2 separate regions of the Homo sapiens genome follow, and region 2 is linked to region 1. Evidence: promoter capture Hi-C in 16 types of primary human blood cells and fetal thymus (Javierre and others, 2016). All regions are on one chromosome and are shown on one strand. Each heading gives the region's core, a stretch centred on a gene start or on the middle of the fragment in contact. The rest is flanking DNA. Distances are from core to core; before and after follow the strand shown. Region 1 holds the start of C1QTNF7 (C1q and TNF related 7). Region 2 overlaps C1QTNF7-AS1 (C1QTNF7 antisense RNA 1).

Evidence for each region. Contacts are between HindIII fragments. The CHiCAGO score rates a contact against its expected background, and 5 or more counts as called.
Region 2: a contact is called between a fragment that was not itself captured here and the fragment with the promoter of C1QTNF7 in region 1, in 2 of 17 cell types (M1 macrophages and naive B cells). The highest score is 6.0, in M1 macrophages.

The regions. Positions count from the first base shown.
Region 1 is chr4:15,424,772-15,430,050 of GRCh38, forward strand. It overlaps C1QTNF7 (C1q and TNF related 7), which reads left to right and starts at 3,262. Exons shown (of 3, transcript NM_031911.5): 1 at 3,262-3,335. C1QTNF7-AS1 (C1QTNF7 antisense RNA 1) reads right to left here and starts at 3,143. Exons shown (of 6, transcript NR_125911.1): 1 at 3,058-3,143. The HindIII fragment of the contact is 5,402 bases long and covers 2,053-5,279 here.
Region 2 is chr4:15,258,732-15,264,010 of GRCh38, forward strand. It overlaps C1QTNF7-AS1 (C1QTNF7 antisense RNA 1), which reads right to left. Exons shown (of 6, transcript NR_125911.1): 2 at 4,666-4,733. Among named protein-coding and RNA genes, the nearest start is that of C1QTNF7-AS1, 170 kb to the right of the region's middle. The HindIII fragment of the contact is 157 bases long and covers 2,745-2,901 here.

The sequences.
Region 1 (5,279 bases), core at 2,012-4,511:
TGATGGTCACTGTCAGATCCAGCTGGATTTTAACAAGTTCTAAGTCGATGTATGAGCATTGGTTGCCTATCATTCTCTGCTTTGTGTTCTCAGCTGAAATTCCAAGTGGATGGGAATTCCCAATTCATATCCTGTTAAGCACAGTTCTGTGATTATTTCATAAATATCTCTCTTCCTCACTAGATTTTGTCTCTACAAGGTCTCTTTGTTTGCTCTCTACTGAATACCCAGACCAAGCATTCAGCATCTGACATATAGTAGCAGCTAAATAAATAAGTGATGAAGTAATAAATAAAAGAACAGGATGAGACACAAAGAAGACCAGATTTGTATCACTACAACTCCCCGGTTTGTAAGGACAAGCAGATAAGGCATCATTTGAGCAAGAGTAGATAAGGCAAAGATTCCTAGAGCCTGGCTGCCCATTGGAATCACCCATAGAGCTTTTAAAAAATATTAATGCCTAACTTAATCTACTGATATGCTCATTCAGTAGATCTAGTTAAGAGCCAGTGAGCTAAAGTGCATGGCAGATCCAAATTACGTGCTAGAAGGGTTCAGGAGAAGACAGGGTTGTGCCTGCTTGAGAATATCAGGGAGACTTTCTGTAGAAAGTGATGCATACAGAAGATAAATGTGAACAGATGGAGAAAGAGGCATAGGGGAGACATGGTTGGTAATGGCTTGCAGCTACTGGAGATGATATAAGCAAGGCACTGAGGTTACAAAGAGAAGATTCAATTCCTAACAGAACCCAGGGCACCCATGGAGAGGAGGAGGAAGAAACAGAGGGTATGCAACTGCAAGTTGTTTGGATGCAAAAACATGGTCTTTTAAAGTTAGCAACAACCTAGGGAGGAAATATGGTAAGTAGTTAGGTGTGTCAATTGTGGATCAGACTGTCTAAATTACTCATCTGTAGAAGGAGGATAATACAATTACTCACCTCAAGAGGTTATGATGAGGATTAAAGAAAGTGATGCTTGTCATGTCTTAGCACGTTGTACATGCTCATTACATATCAGCTAGAACCTTCTTTTTAAAATACTTCTACCACCTAGAAAAATGGTGTGTGAGTGTGTGTGTATGTATGTGTGTAGTGGTGAGCAGAGCTGGCTTATACCTGCCAGCAAGTGCGAATTCTACAATTCTACATTCTATAACTTTCCAACTCTGCATTCAGTGAAGGTCAGATTGTTAGCTTGAAATTGACCATGGCGGGGGTATTCACTCCAAGAAAACTAACAAAAGCTACAAATCTGAACCTTCTTTTTGAGAGCTAGGTTAGCGGCAAACTGTTAGGTGCTCTGGGAACACTGATGGGATTGGAATGGAATGGAATGAATTCAGTTGAAAAGTAAATAAAGGATATGGGGTAAAAAAGAGCACAAGTTGAGAAAGGAAGATTATCTGCCTAGGAAAGACAAAATAAGACCCCGTCCTTGGGGTGAGTGGCAGGTAAAAATGGAATCTGACTTTTACTCTGAGCCAATACTTCCTTAAGCATATTTTTCTACCCATCACTTCACCACTGCTTCTAAGTGTGAAAATAACTGAGTGAAATAGACACTGACAAGCTTTATCAACATCTGAGGTTCTGAACACTCTCAGAGACATTTTCAAAGGTTCATTCTCTCTGGGAAAAAGAATGAGTTCAGAAAGACACAGATTACAATAAATTATCTGGGATGAAAATAATAAAGAAGAAAAAGAAGAAATTCAATTTTTATTGAAGAACAGAAAAAATACTGTAATACTTTAATGATACAAAAAACCTTATTTTATGTGGTAAGTAACATTAAAGAGAAATTAGAGAAGTTGTGAATGACACAGAAAAGAAAATATGAATATCCACAAATTGTATCAACACTTTAAGGCAGAAAAATAAGAATGCATCTATTCTTTTATTGGTCTACAAATTCATCCACTTCTGAGCTCCCTGGCAGAGACTGGGCTACTCCAAAGCAGACATAATGGAAAAAGCCCACTTAAGAAGTTATCACTTATAAACAAATAAATGAACATATTAAAAGGCTGTATCACCTGAAATTAAGCTTGTAAATGGGTGACATCAGACACCATCATTTGGTTCGAGAATATTAAGAACTATGAGAAACCCTGGAAATAATCAAGGACAACCATCTTATTTTGAAAGTGAGAAAACAGACACAGAGACTTTATCTGATTAAAATCTGACTCTAATTTAGCAATAAGTTATGACTAGCTTCTATGCTCAAGACATTGTTTTGACCATCCTATGATGGCATTAAGATTTTGGAAAGCCAACAAATTCAAAGGACCATTTCCTCCAGTGTGGAGAGTGGATCCCAAAGGCAAAATTAAGCTGGTCAGAACGGGGAGCCCAGCAATCTCGTTGGTCAAGTGTGTGGTCAACATCCACTTCACTAACTCTGGAAACATTCCTTTCAATTAGAGTTCTCATTGCTTGAGAAGAATGAGAGGAAAAGAAAGATAAAAACAAGATTTTTTTCAGTCGTCTAATTTCCATAAATGACATCATAAATTATATATTGCTGTTGCCAAGGAAATATAAGAAATACATAGCAGAAGGAAACAAAGAAATTGATTGCACCATAGACGACTAGTCATATGCTTTGGAGAATCATTCTGCCTTTTGAGATGTTATGATCAGTTCTTTACAGGCACAAAGACATATTAGTTTTCTAAAAATACCCAATCATTTATCCATTCAGCAAAGAACAAAGAAAACAAAATCAGTGCAATTCTCATAACCCTCTTTCTTTGCACAGCACATAGAATGAGGGGCTATTTTCCTGCCATATTTACCAAGAATAGGGACAGTGTTCATTATTCCACAAGACACCATCCTAGGTCCAGAATCTAAAGGCTCTACCTCCAAAACTCTCAAATATAAAATGGCTTTTTTCTCTAAGTTAACAACTAATTTCCAGTCAGTGAGTAATTTTTTTCCTGAAACATTCACTCAGTGGAAAACAAATGAAGAGGGAAAAAATTAAGTAAACAAATCTGAAAAAGAGGCCACAACACACAGAGATGGAGAAGCTCTAAACTTACCACTGAAGGAAAGCAGGCACTTAAAGTTTATCCCAAACAAAACTGTAATTTTAACTGGTCCCCGAGTTGAGCCTCACTCGATGAATGACTTCCAGGGCCTTTGGCTCTTTGGGACTAAACGAGAAAATTATTTTTAGCACAACTATTTGGAAATCTTTGAGAATTTGGATCTGTTATTCTGTCTGGTACCAAAGCAAGTTTTTCACTGAGCTCTCATGAAAGATCCTCAGTCTCTTGTGGATTTAGAATCCTGCAGCAGCCCACCATCTAAGAGCAAGGTATGGTGTTTACTCTTTTTTTTAGAATTTTGGCAAATGTAGATGCAATGGCCTGTTCTCGTGACGGGAGCTTTTTAGCTTATTAAACAGATGGCTCTGTAGGAAGAATCCATAAAACTGAAGACCTAGCTTCAAGTCTCTGGACTGACACTAGCTTTCTAACCATAGACAAGTTGCGGGACTTCTCAGGACCTTGGTTCCCCATCTAACCTACCACAAGATGGTTTTGGGGAGGACGATATGGGCTTAGCATTGCTCTCTAGGATATAAAATGTTTTGCAAATGTCAGGGTTTTTTTTAATCACTGTGCCATAAAGTAGTCAAAACTTTATCAATAATGAACTGTTGACAATAATAAATATTGATGAATTTTTTTTTCTTCATTGAGCCTCTACTGTAGACTAGTCTCTGTCCTAGAGTTTGCATTTTAGTGGGGAAACAAGCAAGTCAATAGATAGCCATAACACAGTGCAATTGTGTGGCCTTGCAGGGACTTGAGTAGTGCCAGGAGGAGAAGGAGGTTAATTCATGGCAAACAGGAAAAGCAGTTCTGCAGAGGAAAATTGGAGCCCCCAAAAGCAAAGAACTGGTGAACAACAACATAAAAGGAACTGAGGCATGAGCAGCTCAGGTCTCCATCCTGTCCCAATCACAGTGCCACTCCCAGTGCAACAAGAGAAACACAGAGCTTGCTGTTGTGAAATCTCCACCTCTGCAGGCCAAGAAAATGTCCCGTTTTGGCTTTTCCTGGTTACCTATTCTCTTCTTAATGATTTCCAGGCAAAGCACATTTTCAACTTGAATTAATTATCAAGTCCAGCCCTTTGTCATGAAGTAATATGTTATAGTTTCCCTCACATGATGTAGGGACAAACTCAAGTGTTTGAAGACAAAAGAACTCAGTACAAATTCTGGCTGCACCATTTCATGCCTGTGTGGACTTGAGCCCACAGAGTATCAATGTTCTTACTTATAAAGTGAAGGTAATAGCACTTACTTCATAACAAGTGGTGTGAGGATAAAGTAAAAGATGTCCTTAAAACACCTGGCACAGAAATAAGAATACTGGGCTCTCCCTGCATTCCAATTCATTTTTATTCAGTTTTTTTAATTATGGTAAAATATACATATCATAAAATTTACCATTTCAACCATTCTTATGTGTACGGTTCTGCAGCATTAAATACATTCATTTTGTTATGCAGTATCATCACCATCTCTCCAGGACTTCTTCGTCTTCCCAAACTGAAACTCTCTATACCCATGAAACCATAAATTCCCATTCCCCTCTTCCCTTCCTCCTCCAACAGTGAGTATTCTACTTTCAGTCTTGATGAATGTGACTACTCTAGGAACTTTGTGTAAGAGGAATCACACAATATTTGTCCTTTTGTGACTGGCTTATTTCACATAATATACTGTCTTCAGGGTTCCTCATGTTGTAGCATGTGTCAGTATCTCCTTTCCTTTTAAGGCTGAAGAAGATTCCATTGTACGTGTAGACCAGGTTTTGTTTATCCATTCACCTTTCCATGGACACTTGGGTTGCTTCCACCTTTTGCCTATTGTGAATAACGCTGCAGATATGGCTATGCAAATATCTGTTTGAGTCCTTGCTGCTACGAACATGCATGTGCAAATATTTGTTTGAGTCCCTGATTTTACTTCTTTTGGATATATGCCCCAAAGTGGAATTGCCATATCATATGGTAATTCTCTTTAATTTTTTTGAGGAATCACTATCCTGTTTTCCACAGGCGCTGCACCATTTTACATTCCCACCACCAACATATTTTATTTTTCCAAGAAAAAAATATACTTGGAGTCTACTTACACTGGGGAAAAAATAATATGCTATTTACAAAGGGATCTCAATCTATGAACATGTTTTCCAGGATTTCAATCTTTGTACTGAGTTAATCAGTATTTCTCCAAGTATTTTCC
Region 2 (5,279 bases), core at 1,573-4,072, 170 kb before region 1:
CTACCTACACTTCCTGGGTTCAAGCAGTTCTCATGCCTCAGCCTCCCGAGTAGCTGGGATTAGAGGCGTGCACCACCACACCTGGATTTTTGTATTTTTGGTAGAGACGGGATTTTGCCCTGTTGGTCAGGCTGTTCTCGAACTCCCGACCTCAGGCAATCCATCCACCTCAACCTCCCAAAGTGCTGGGATTACAGGTGTGAGCCATCACACCTGGGCACTACATTTCTAATACCTTTCCTTCAATGTTTCTACCTTCCTGCCTTCATGCATTTGTGCATACAGTCTCTTCTGCCTAGAAAGCTTATTTGTGCAATGTAGTGGATTCTAATCATATCCAATTTATGTGGACAACACATCATAGCGCTAATTAACAGAAGAACACAACACAACAGTTAGAGATCTATTTAGTGGCAAATGATATTAAAAGTTTTCTCTTGGAGATAGATTCTTAAAGCAGGAGGCAACACAGTAAAGTCCCAGTTAATGCCATGGCACCTCCAATTTCCCAAAGTCTTTACCAGAATACTAATACTGCACATGTTGCAAGGTTCTGCCATTCTCATCATGTGGAGTAGCTGAAGGTCAGAATTTACCGCCCTTCTATCCCTTCTGACTGTTGTTGGAACCCGGGAAATATGCCTACCTGTTAAGAAATGCAAATATGCAAAGTAACCCCAACGTGAGTGTTTTCTACAAAACTGGTTAGTTGGAGGTGAACTATTGCCTATTTTTAGGTATTTGGGTTTTTTTGTTTGTTTGTTTGTTTTTGTTTGTTTGTTTTTTGAGATGGAGTCTCACTCTGTTGCCCAGGCTGGAGTGCAATGGCATGATCTCGGCTCACTGCAACCTCCGCCTCCCGGATTCAAGTGATTCTCCTGTCTCAGCCTCTCGAATGGCTGGGATTACAGGCACTGACCACCGCACCCAGCTAATTTTTGTATTTTTAATAGAGACGGGTTTTCATCATGTTGGCCAGGCTGGTTTCGAACTCCTGACCTCAGGTGATTCACCTGCCTCGGCCTCCCAAAGTGCTCTGAAACTTTCTATTCAGGCATCTCTTCTCACTGTTTGTTCATCTGAGTGGTGCTGGTTCTGAATTTGTTTGAAGGTCAAAGAGCTCATATTCAGGTCCCAACAGCATATTTTAAAGATAGTCTTGAATCCAGTTGATCTTTCACAGAACCTTCTTTCCCAGACACTCCAAGTCATAAACTGCTCTTTCCCTCATCTGAATCCCAAAGTTGTTCTGCTTGATAATATTTTTGTATTTCATATATGGGGAGAGTAGCCACTTCCTGAATGTTTAACAGCAATTTGGTAATAAATATTTCAGGGAGTGACATCAACAAAATGGTGCAGTAGGAGATTCCAGCCCTCATCCCACCATTCTTTGAGCTGAATGTTTGTGTCCTGCCCACCTCCCCCAATACCAAATTCATACATTGAAATCCTGTCCCCCAAGGTGATAGTATTAGAAAGTGGAGCGTTTAGGAAGAGATTAGATCATGAGGGCGGAGCCTCAATATTTGTATTAGAGCCCTTATAAAAGAGATTCCAGATGGATAATTCATCTCATTTACCATGTGATGACACAAGAAGAAGTAGGCAGTCTGCCATCCAGAAGGCAACTCTCACCAGGAGCTGGGCCATGCCGAGACCCTGATATCAGACTTCTAGTCTCAAAAACTGTGAGAATTAAATTTCTGTTGTTTACAAGCCACCCAGCTTATGGTATAGGCATACCTGTTTTACTGCCCTTTGCTTTATTGAGCTTGGCAGATATTACCTTTTCCACAAATTAAAGGTTTGTGACAATCCTGCATCGAACAAGTTTATCTGTCATTTTTCCAACAGCACATTCTCACTTCATGTCACTATGTCGTATATTGGTAATTCTCACAATATTTCAAACTTTTTCATTATTATTATATTTGTATGGTGATATGTGATTAGTGATCTTTGATGTTAGCATTGCAATTGATTGGGAGCAGCACAAATCATACTCATATACGATTGCAAACTTAATCGATAAATGTTGTGTGTGCACGGGCTGCTCCACTGACCAGTAGTTCCCCCATTTATGTTTCTGCTCTTGAGTGTCTCTATTCCCTGAGACACAATGATACTGAAATTAGGCCAATTAATAACCCAGCATGGCCTCAAGTGTCCAAGTGAAAGGAAGAGTCACATGTCGAAACAATTAGCTTAGTGAATAAGGCATGTCAAAAGCCAGGATAAGCCAAAAGCCCATGCCAAACAGCCTCAAGTTGTAAACACAAAGGAAAAGTTCTTGACGGAAATTCAAAGTGCACTCCAGTGAACACAAATGATAAGAAAGCGAGACAGCCTTATTGTTGATATGGAGAAAGTTTTGGTGATCTTAATAGAAGATCAAACCAGCCAAAACATTCCCTTAAGCCAAAGGCTAATCCAGAGCAAAGTCCTAACTCTCTTCAATTCTCTGAAGACTGAAGGAACTGTAGAAAAACATTGTAAGCTAGCAGAGGTTGGTTCATGAGGTTTAAGGAAAGAAGTTATTTTCATAACAAAATTGCAATATTAAACAGCAATTGCTGAAGGAGAAATTGCAGCAAGTTATCCAGAAGATCTAGCTGAGAATATTTACAAAGGTGGCTACACTAAACAACAGATATTTAATATTAATAAAACAGCCTTATATTAGAAGAAGATGCTATCTAAGACTTTGATAGCTAGACAGGAGAAGTCATGCCTGATTTCAAAGCTTTAATTAAAGGACAATCTGACTCTCTTATTAGAGGCTAATGCAGCTAGTGACTTTAAGTTGAAGCCAATGCTCATTTACCATTCTGAAAGTCCTAGGGCCAGTAAGAATTATGCCAAATCTACTCTCCATGTGCTCTATAAATAAAACAACAAAGCTTGGATTTCAGCATATCTGTTTATATCACAGTTTACTGAATATGTTAGAACCACTGTTGAGACCTACTGCTTAGAAAAAGAAAAGATATTCTTTTCAAAATATTACTGCATATTAGCAACGTACCTGATCACCCAAGAGCTCTGATGGAAATGTACAAGAAGATTAATGTTGTTTTTATACCTGCTCACTCAGAATCCTTTCTGCTGCCCATGGATCAAGGAGCAATTTTTACTCTCAAATATTATTTAAAAAGTACATTTATAAGGGTATGGCTACCATAGATGGTGATTCCTCTGATGAATCTGGGCAAAGTAAACTGAAAACTTGGAAAGGATTCACCATGCTAGCTGCCATTAAATTCATTTTATGGGAGGATGTCTAAATATCAGCATTAGCAGAAGTTTGGAAGAAGTTTATTTCAGCTCTCATGGATGACTTTGAGGGGTTTAGGACTTCAACAGAAGAAGCATATGCAGATGTGGCAGAAATAACAGGAGAACTAGAATTTAAAATGAAGCCTCAAGACGTGACTGAATTGCGCAGTCTCATAATAAAACTTGAAAGGGTATGAAGTTGCACTTATAGTCTATGGTCATACCACCCTGAACGTGCCCAGTCTCATCCATGTTGCATTTATGAATGAACAAAGAAAGTGCTTCTTGAAATGGAATCTACTTTTGGTGAAGATGCTGTGAACATTGTTTAAATGACAACAAAAAATGTAAAATATACATATGTTTAGTTGATAAAGCAGCAACAGAGTTTGAGAGGGTTGATTCCAATTTTGGAAAAAGTTCTACTGTGGGTAAAATGCCATCAAACAGCATTGCATGCTACAGGGAAATCTTTTCTGGAAATAAGTCAATTAATGTGACAAACTTTATTGTTGTCTTATTTTAAGAAATTTCCAGTGTCAACCCAACCTCCAGCAATCACCACCTTGATGAGTCAGCAGCCATCAACACAGAGGCAAGGCCCTCTACCAGCAAAAAGATTATGACTCACTGAAGGCACAGATGACTGTTAGCAATTTTTAGCAACACAGTATTTTTTGTTTGTTTTGAGTTTTTTTATTTTATATTTTTTATTTTTGAAACAGGGTCTCTATCACCCAAGCTGGAATGCAGTGGCATAATCATGGCTCACTGCAGCCTCAATCTCCCAGACTCAGGTGATCCTCCCACCTCAGTCTCCTGAACAGCTGGGACTACAGGCATGTGCCACCACACCTGGCTAATTTTTTGTAATTTTCTTTTTCTTTGTAGAGATGGTGTTTTGCTGTGTTTTTCAGCCTGGAATCAAACTCCTAGGCTCAAGCAGTCTTCCCACCTCAGCCTTCCAAAGTGCTGGGATTACAGGCATAAGCCACAGTACTTTATTGTGCCCAGTCAGTAAGGTATCTTTTAATGAGGGTACGTATATTGTTATTTAGACATAATGCTATTTTGCACTTAATTTACTGCAGTATAGTATAAACATAACTTTTATATGCACCGAAAGACCATAACCATTGTGTGACTCACTTTCTTGCAATATTCACTTTAATGCAGTGCTCTGGAATACAACCTGCAATATCTCTGAGGTATGTCTGTATTTTGTTATAGCAGCCCAAACAAACAGATACTCCACATAAACAATAACAACATTCATGGATAAAAATAGCTCTGGGAGAATTGTAAAGTAAAATTAAGAAGCTAGAGCAACACAGTCAAGCACTAAAACTGAGATGGCCACATATAAAAGTGTAGGAAGTATCTTACCTGTGTCACCTTGTCCCCTAGCTGGCACAACTCAGTAACAAAAGGAATCCCCTTGGATGTGGCTTTTCCTTATAGAGGAAAATAAAAATAGAAAACCCCTATCAGCTCTCTCTGCCAAAGACTCCCACAGTCTTCAACAACACAGATCCCAGCTGATGGAATGGCCCAGAAATCATGTTTCTATACTAACCTGGATGCAGAGCAGCTATACATGCCCCTGGCTTCTGGACCTGGCACCACCACCAAACAGCCCCTGGATCCAGTGCCTCCACATGCACACCAGACCCCAGCACTGCTGGAAAACCCATGACCCAGCCCCACTGCATACATACCAGATCCAATGCTACCACACCCCCACTAGACCCAGCACTGCTACATGCCCCCAAACTAGAACGCTTACACATCCTCAGAACCAGTGCCTCAATGCACTCTTGGAACCTGCATCCCTATACATCCCTGGATCTGATGCCAGATCCAACACCACTATGCAGACCAACCAGCCAGTGCCCTTGTGTCCACCTACAGGTAAAAAAATTTTCCTATCAAAGTCAGTCCCCAAAGACTGGAACAGGTGACTGCTCCTCCAAATAGGTAGACACCCATGCAAGGATACA